2 separate regions of the Homo sapiens genome follow, and region 2 is linked to region 1. Evidence: promoter capture Hi-C in human tissues and cell types (Jung and others, 2019). All regions are on one chromosome and are shown on one strand. Each heading gives the region's core, a stretch centred on a gene start or on the middle of the fragment in contact. The rest is flanking DNA. Distances are from core to core; before and after follow the strand shown.

Evidence for each region. Contacts are between HindIII fragments. The study calls those that stand out against the background at their distance.
Region 2: a contact is called between a fragment that was not itself captured here and the fragment with the promoter of HPGD in region 1, in 3 of the 25 tissues and cell types used here (liver, pancreas and small bowel).

What each region holds. Positions count from the first base shown.
Region 1 is chr4:174,521,238-174,523,737 of GRCh38, forward strand. It overlaps HPGD (15-hydroxyprostaglandin dehydrogenase), which reads right to left and starts at 1,251. Exons shown (of 7, transcript NM_000860.6): 1 at 1,122-1,251; 2 at 707-830. The coding sequence starts at 1,214. LOC105377548 (a long non-coding RNA gene) reads left to right here and starts at 1,376. Exons shown (of 7, transcript XR_007058492.1): 1 at 1,376-1,892; 2 at 2,148-2,184. The HindIII fragment of the contact is 5,489 bases long and covers 1-2,500 here.
Region 2 is chr4:174,635,314-174,641,078 of GRCh38, forward strand. It overlaps GLRA3 (glycine receptor alpha 3), which reads right to left. Exons shown (of 10, transcript NM_006529.4): 10 at 1,607-5,765. Among named protein-coding and RNA genes, the nearest start is that of HPGD, 120 kb to the left of the region's middle. The HindIII fragment of the contact is 4,732 bases long and covers 1-3,812 here.

The sequences.
Region 1 (2,500 bases), core at 1-2,500:
AACAGCTTTATAATCAAAGCTGTTTATTGTGTATGCCAATATTGTCCCTGATACTTCACAAGTAGATTGGTCTATTTTAAGTGAGTAGCCGGAAACAGGAAAGCATTGAGGAAAGGCTGATAGAGATGTTTCTACTACAATTCTAACATTGTATACTTTATTATGATTACTATTATTATTATTTTAAAGTACTGTCTCATTGGGGAAAAAGCCGGAGAAAACATATGGTCAAAAGCATCTAGCACTTCTGTGATGATGCTCCTTGAACTTGTATTCTGATATGTTTAAACGAAAAACACTGCCACATTTGATTGTCATTGGACTCCAGCTTTCTGGGAGAAGTTGTTTGTCAACAGTACCTTACTTAACCTACTTTAATTTTCCAAGTTTTGTCTGCAATTTCAATCATTTAATAATTACTGCAGCAGCACTGTCTTTGAATACATAAAGGAATTTTGATTACATTAATGCTGCCAAATGACTACAATAAAAGGATTTCTCCAGCAGTCTTGCCTTTCTTTCGGTTTTACAGCTATTGGGCTGTCAGAAGGAAACGTATCAGTCCAAACTGTCTTTTGGAGCTTCAAGGTAGCTGCTCTCGAGGAGGCAGCGGAGGCGGCACCCAGGGCCCCCTGGCCGGGCTGCCTTCAGGTTGTTGCTTGTTGAGAGCACGTTCCCAGTTGACAGATTGATTCCCCTGTCTTACCTCTCAGTTGTTGCTGGTCAGCCACATCGCACTGGATGAACAGAGTCTTCTGAGGTTCAAACTGCTCATCCAGGGCAGCTTTACACTGTACACCTGCTTCAAGATTCCAATCCACCAGCGCTACCTATAGACAAGAGGAGAGGAATCGCGGGCCTGCGCAGCTCACGAAATAGACGGACAAACAATAAACACACAAGAGGCTCCCCTCCTGGACCTGAAATTTGGCAATTAGGTTTGGGTTCCCTCCCAGCCACTTCTGAGGTGTGCTCACAGCCTCAGCTTCAGCAAATTTTGGAAGTGGCAAAGTGGGCACGCCGGGCGCGGCCTCCCTGTCTCCGCCAGTGCACCTCGGGCGGCGGGGCGAGTCTCGGAGTGTGTGGGCAGAGAAATTTCCGCGGCTGGGCGCCGGGCTTACCTTGGCGCCCTTAAGCAGCAGCGCCTCTGCAAAGGCTCTGCCTATGCCCTGAGCCGCGCCGGTCACCAGCGCCACTTTGCCGTTCACGTGCATGGTGCAGCCACTGCTGGGGCGGGCGGTGGGCGAGCTCCGCGTCTCCGCGCGGCCGCGGCTTTTATGCCCCCCTGCGCGCGCGCGCGTGCAGCCCGGCGGGGCGCTCCCCTGCCAGTGGGCGGGGAGGAAACTGTCAAGCCAGCGCCCGCCGGGGAACCCACGACTGTGTCACCTGCCCCCTGAGCGTTCTGGAGCGCCAAGCTTCGCGATCTTTGCCTTCCGGACTCGCAGACCGGCTCAAAGCCTCCCCTCAGCCTCTGGCTCCGTGATTGGCAGGCAGCTGACAGAAGAAAAGTTAAAAGGTTATTTCTGAAGAAGAGTTTCCTTCAGTGCCCTAAAGACCAACTGGATAGAAGGAGAGCGGAGCAGAGGCTTGGAAGCTTGGATCCCTCCTCCTGCACTCCCTCCCGGCCCCGACTCCGGAACAAAACAAGCAAACAATAAAGCAAACTTGTTGCTCTTTTGTCTCAAAGTTTTGTGTGAGTTCCCATCTCGTAATCAGTGGGGTTGAGGGTGACGGGGAGCAGAAGTAACTAATATCATTGTGTTTTCTTAGTTACATTTTGGACAAATTTTTACGGATACTGGAGATGAGAAGTGGACTCTGCTCTGTCCTGAAAACCTGGAATCATAACATTTCATGGCTAGGACTAGAGTGTCCTTGGCGCTGTGTTTCTGGTCAGTGTCAATTGTGTGTCATATTGAGATGCCCCCACAAAAACTGTCATCATCAACAGGCGCTCCAGAGCCGCTGGTAGCCTACCAAATTGTTGGCTCAATGGAATGCTTACTTGTTGAAATACACCAACTTTGGAAGCTCTGAGTCAAGTTTGGGACAGAGGTTCCTTGCTCTCCAGGAACTCCAGGGCTAGCTGTATGCGGACTTGCATAAATAACAAGGGCTATTCCACTGACTTTGTCTCTTTTTCTCAGGTTGTCAGCGGCAGGCTGCAATTTTAATTCTGTAAACGTAAGTGGTTGGCTTTTTTTTTTTTTTTTTTTTTTTAATCTTGAGACAAGATCTCGCTCTGTCTGTTTGGCTAGAATGCAGTGGCATAATCCCAGCTCGCTGCAACCTCAATCTCCAGGGCTCAAGCGACCCTCCCACCTTGGACTCCCAAAGAGTGCTAAGATTACAGGCATGAGCCACTATGCCCAGCTGGCATTTATTTTCTTAAAGAAAAAAAAAATCTAAATACTTGGGGGAAATGGGAGTTGAGCAAAAGACTGACACTAACAGCAGAATGAATCATTTTTATATCTTCTTTACCTTCTTTACTGGGAAA
Region 2 (5,765 bases), core at 197-2,696, 110 kb after region 1:
ATGTCCAGCTCTGCTTTTCTTTCACAGTGCCAGCTTCTGTTCACAACCCAGCTTCCAGTTAACAGTTTGCCCAAGTGAATTTTTAAATACTGTCAGAGCAGTACAATGTTGGATAAAGAGCATCAACAGAGATAACCTGATAAGACAACACATGGGGTCAAATATACAAATATAAAGAAACATAAAAACAAACTAAATATTTATAGTATAGTTCAGTAAATATGGTCTAATTCAATTTAGGATTCCAATGAATGCGTATTTAAAAATGCAAATTACACAAAATTACAAAGAAGGAATATATTTAGAAAATCAGTTTATCAAGGCAGAAAGCAACTGTCAGCAAGAGTATATTGAAATAAACTATGTAAAGAAAAATAACCAATGTAGTGATATGGAAAATGATGAATATCATGAGAGTAATGAAAGTATTTTAAACCATAGTAGTATAAATTGACTTAATTAATCACAGTTTACCAATAAGCTTCTTTCCATTCTTAGTGTGGTCACATTACATTTATTCCTATACATTTTGTTTAGGGATCCATTACCTATAGATATCGCTAACACTTGTACTTACAGATGACCTGGACTGATTCTATGGCAGTATTTCAGTACAGAGTTTTTGCTGATGTCATGATATGAACCACATAAGCAATTAGTGAAGGCCAGCTTACTGAAGAAAATCATCATGCTGATTTAGCAAGGAATTTTCAATCTAAGTTTTTTTCCTGAACTTTGTGCCAGTCAATATATAAAAGTGTCAAACACTATTACATATAAATTATAGGTACTTTAAAAATGATAGACTAATTATCACACACCAAATAGTAATATTTTCTTAAATTTCTTGGCCGGGCGTATTTTTGGAGGCCAAGTATTTTTGGAGGCCGAGGGGGGGCGGATCATGAGGTCAGGAGATCGAGACCATCCTGGCTAACACGGTGAAACCCCATCTCTACCAAAAATACAAAAAATTAGCCGGGCATGGTGGCGGGCACTTGTAGCCCCAGCTACTTGGGAGGCTGAGGCAGGAGAATTGCTTGAACCCGGGAAGCGGAGGTTGCAGTGAGCTGAGATCGCACTACTACACTCCAGCCTGGGTGACAGAGCGAGACTCCGTCTCAAAAAAAAAAACAATTCCTATTTGTTTACTACTATTCTATCACTAAACTCCAGTCTAACTCTGTGGAGGAAAAAAGAAAGATGAAATTATAGGTTTAAAAAAACATCAGTATTCCATTTTGAAATAGTCTCTATGGGTAAGTCAAGTGAAAGTGGTTTATTCAATAAACAGATTTTAAGAAGTCTTTCAAACAAACAAAAACTACAAATACACTAATGCCAAATCATTTTTCTAGTTAGTAATACTTCTTCTCTCATTCTATCCTTAGTAGAAAAGTTCCATTCACCATCCTTCTCATTGTGCTTTTCCTATAATGAAATGCATATATTAAGACTTCTCTGAATGATATATCACTGACTTTGTAATCCTAGATGTAATAGTTTCCATGAGAACAGGAATGTAGCATGACTTTTGTCAGGAAGACAACATGATTCTTTGGTAAAATCTGGTCTTTAAAAAAATTAGACAAAAGAGGTATCCATATTCTTGAAAAGTGTTCATTTTTATTGTTTCGGATCAAATTATCTATAGTTACATGTTAAATACTTTATACTGTTCACAGGTTAATGACTCTGATAGAGAGTCTGTTAGTTGCAAAATTGAACTAAATATAATATAATGAAAAACAAGTTGATGAAATCGTGCATAAATTTTTAAATATGTTTTCAGTATAATTTCCTGGAAAAATATGACAGCATCTGGACAAGGAAGACAGACTTAGACATAAGACTCAAGAAGACAGAAAAATAATTTACACCATAAAAACCATAAAATAGCAATACTTCTTTTGGTAGTCCTTTAAACAACTTGACTCACTAATAATGAAGTCACTGTATATCATATAAAGATGGTACATGGAAAATATATGGCACATTTTCTTTTTGTTTTGTTTTTCATAGCATATCATATTATATCTGTAGAATGTCAGGGTACTTCACTCTATTTCCCCCCCCATATTATCATTTATCATACATTAAAATACAAATTTAAGTAATGACCATTGAATAATTCATAGAGAAAAAAGTGAAGAAGTGCAAAATTATTCAAGCATATTCAAGTACAATTTTACATCTGAATCCTTTCCTGCCATTTAAGTCACAGCTCCCTAGTATTAACCACCCAGGCTGGATACTGTGTATGTGAGCGGGGTTGCCCAAAGGCGCCATTGCTAAAACCACCCCAGAGTAAAAGCAGCTATTAAAATAAAACAACTTAATCCCCTGTACTTTTGTTATAGCTTTACTCTAAAAACACACAATATGGTTAATATGGTTTGCTGCTAGTTTTTTTAAATTCATATTACTTTGTAGAGTTTTATATAATATCTTCATATCTGAAATAAATTTAAAAATATTTAATTTAAATTTATTGCTGTTATAGGAAGACATTAACAGTTACTGAAAATAATATACATAGAAATTTTCATCAATTTCTATTTATCTATGTAGATAATTAATTTTATATTTCATTATTTTATAAGCCTGAAAATATCTCATCATTGTTTAACACTTACAATGCTCTCATGAATGGTTTAAATAAGAATAAAGCTAGTGATAAGGGGTTGATTGAACTTAAACACAGACAGCAGAAATGTGAAAATATATGCTAGTTGTCTTATAGGAGGGGAATAAACTTACTTGGTATTTTAGGAAGTAAAAGTCATTTCTTGATGAAGATTAACATTTTTATCATCTAGAGTTATGTCACAATGGAACAGAAGACTGCCCTCAGAGTAATGAGCTACCTGTTGCTATCTGGGTGCTCGAAGAATGTGGATAATGTAATGGTGAAGATTCTGACATTGGGAGGAAAGCTGAATTGAAACGCATCAAAGATTTATTTTAAATTCTTTTTTTGTCTGTCTGTTTGTTTGTGAGACAGAGTCTCACTCTGTCACCCAGTTTGGAGTGCAGTGGTGCGATCTTGGCTCACTGCAACCTCCATCTCCTGGGCTCAAGCCATTCTTCCACCTCAGCCTCCCTTGAGTAACTGGGATTACAGGCACCTGCCATCATGCCTGGCTAATTTTTGTATTTTTAGTAGAGACAGGGTTTTATCATATTGGCCAGGCTGGTGTCTTAACTCCTGACCTCAAGTGATTTGACTGCCTCGGCCTCCCAAAGTGCTGGGATTACAGGCGTGAGCCACCTGGCCGGGCCTATTTTTAATTCTAAGAATATAAATGAGAGACAACTAAAATTAGTTGCTTGAAGAAAGAAAAAATGATAAAACTTAAAAAGTGTTAAATTGATCCTTATTAAGAGAATAAGCTTGTGTAAGTTCACACGAATTCTCTCACTTCTGGAATTTTTTCAATCATCCAGAATTTCAGATCTTATTCCAAAAATACTAAATTTAGCACTTGGGACAGTGCCAGGCACACATAAGGTACTCAATGAATATTTGTTTAATCAATGATTAAATCATAATCTTCTATGTTGGACACCAAGCATATGTATGTATTTTTAAAATGTGTAAGGAATTCCAACACATAGCCAGGGTTCAAAATCACTTTTTAAAAATAATACTCCATCACCTTAAATGTCTCCTCTTTGTTTATGTGTTAACCACAAAAACTACTGAGAAAACCACCTGTTCAGACACTACAAAGTCATCCAATATTACTAGCTGTCTTTTGAAAAAGGTTTTTGACAGTTATTTAGCTGTTCTTCAAAAACGGTTCAAATAGTGTTTTAGAATTCGATTGTTAAGGGTTAAAGACTTGATCCAGTTAGCTTTGTTTATGTGTTTTTGAGGCAAAAGATTGTTGCATGATTAAGAGCTGGCCAAATCGAATGACTGCATGGTTCATATTTTCCACCAGGAATCACTTAATATTGCAAAACATATCACAGGATTATGAACCTTTGTCTAGAAAAATTGACTGTCTTTGTATTTTTAATCTAAAGGAATTCATCTCATTACCAATATGTGTATGTGTGTGTGTGTGTGTGTGTGTGTGTGTGTGTGTGTGAAAGAGAGAGAGAGAGAGGGAAAGGGAAGAGATGAAGGCATTATTAAGATGTAAAATGTAGACCAAAAAAACAGGTAAGTGGGTCCTAGCTACTAACTTGGGATTATATCTCTTGTCCTCATATCTGGAAGAAGCTTCCCCAGGATATTTTTCCCTGCCCTAGTTCCGTTTAAATTGTAGAGAGTTATATTTTACACATGGCCTATAAGTATCTTTGTTATGGAAGAATATGCATCACTTTACTTTTGAAGTAATTGGAGTACCAGGTGTCTCCCTATGGAAGTTCACTTTTTAATATCACTATGTTTGTAAAGAGGAATGGGGGCTGAGATAAAAGTTTAATTTTAAAGTTAATTAAATTAATGCAATTTACAGTGTACACTGCTTATTTATCCATGAAAGGTTTATATAACAATAAAAAAAATGCAGTGAGGCTATATTTACCACTGTAGCACACAAATAAGGAAATAAAAACCAATGCATCTGCTGAGGAAGATGTCTCTTATACAGGTACAAGATGCAATGGGTATTATGGGTACTTTATTTGCAAGAGGGAATCTGTGTGAACATTTACACTATTTCTTCTAATATATTGTATTAACACCAGATTGTCTTATATTTGGAATGGCTTGCTTTTCTTTGCTAGTTCAATATTAACTAGATGAAAAATATAGGTCGTATATGCTGATAAATTTTGGGAGTTTATGCTATTATCTATGTTGCAAAGAGTGTGGAATCACTTTTGGAGTAGAAGATATCATGACCTCAAGGATTGTTAATGATATCTGTCTAAGGATCATTAGATACATTTTTGTTCTCAGAGTTTTGTTCTTAGAGTGTTCTAAATTTTTAGGGGACACCTGTGAAAAACAATGCTGTCAGTTTCCTTCTTTTCCATTTACAAAATACTGCAAGTATTTTCCATTTCAATTTTGGCAAGTCTCTTGTATTCTCTCATGTCCATTTCCTGGAATGTGTACTTTATAGATGAAATAAAAATTTAGCTGCCAGTATAATATTCAGTCCTCCCAAGTAACCAGCAGGTTGAAGTATGTTGTGTTGAGAAAAATAGAAAAGCATATTTTAAAAAGTGGAATAAAAAATGTTCAGAAAAAGGGATGTATAGTATGGAAGATACATCTAAATCTTTTTTCAAATATTATAACTACTTAAGTTGCACTGAGTACTAAAGTAGTGAACAGCTTGCTCTCTTCTGTTAGTTAAACATTTAGATTATTCATTTTTTTTTCTAAAATTTCCCTTACCTTCCATGAGATCCTGGGTATTCATAAACTAATACATGAATTCATGTCTTAGGGATATATAAATATACAAGCAATTAAATTCCAAATTAAGATAAAAGTTATTAGAATATATCAACAGAATAAGAATTAATTTTAGAATAAGATGAGCAGTCCGGATGATTCCCTAATATAGCCACTGAGAGTTGGATGGGGTCTCCAGCGCCATGGAGAAACTTTTGGAAGGGTTGGAGAAGTTTTAAACACCCTCAGCTTTCTTGAAAATACAGTGACTCTTGAATCTATTTAAAGTTGTAAAGTAAGTTCTAGAGCCTCATTATGGTTTAAGTTCAATTCTAATGGTTGGGAAAGAAAGAAAAGGTTGGGCACATATATGCTAATGTATAAGATAGCCTATAAATTCATA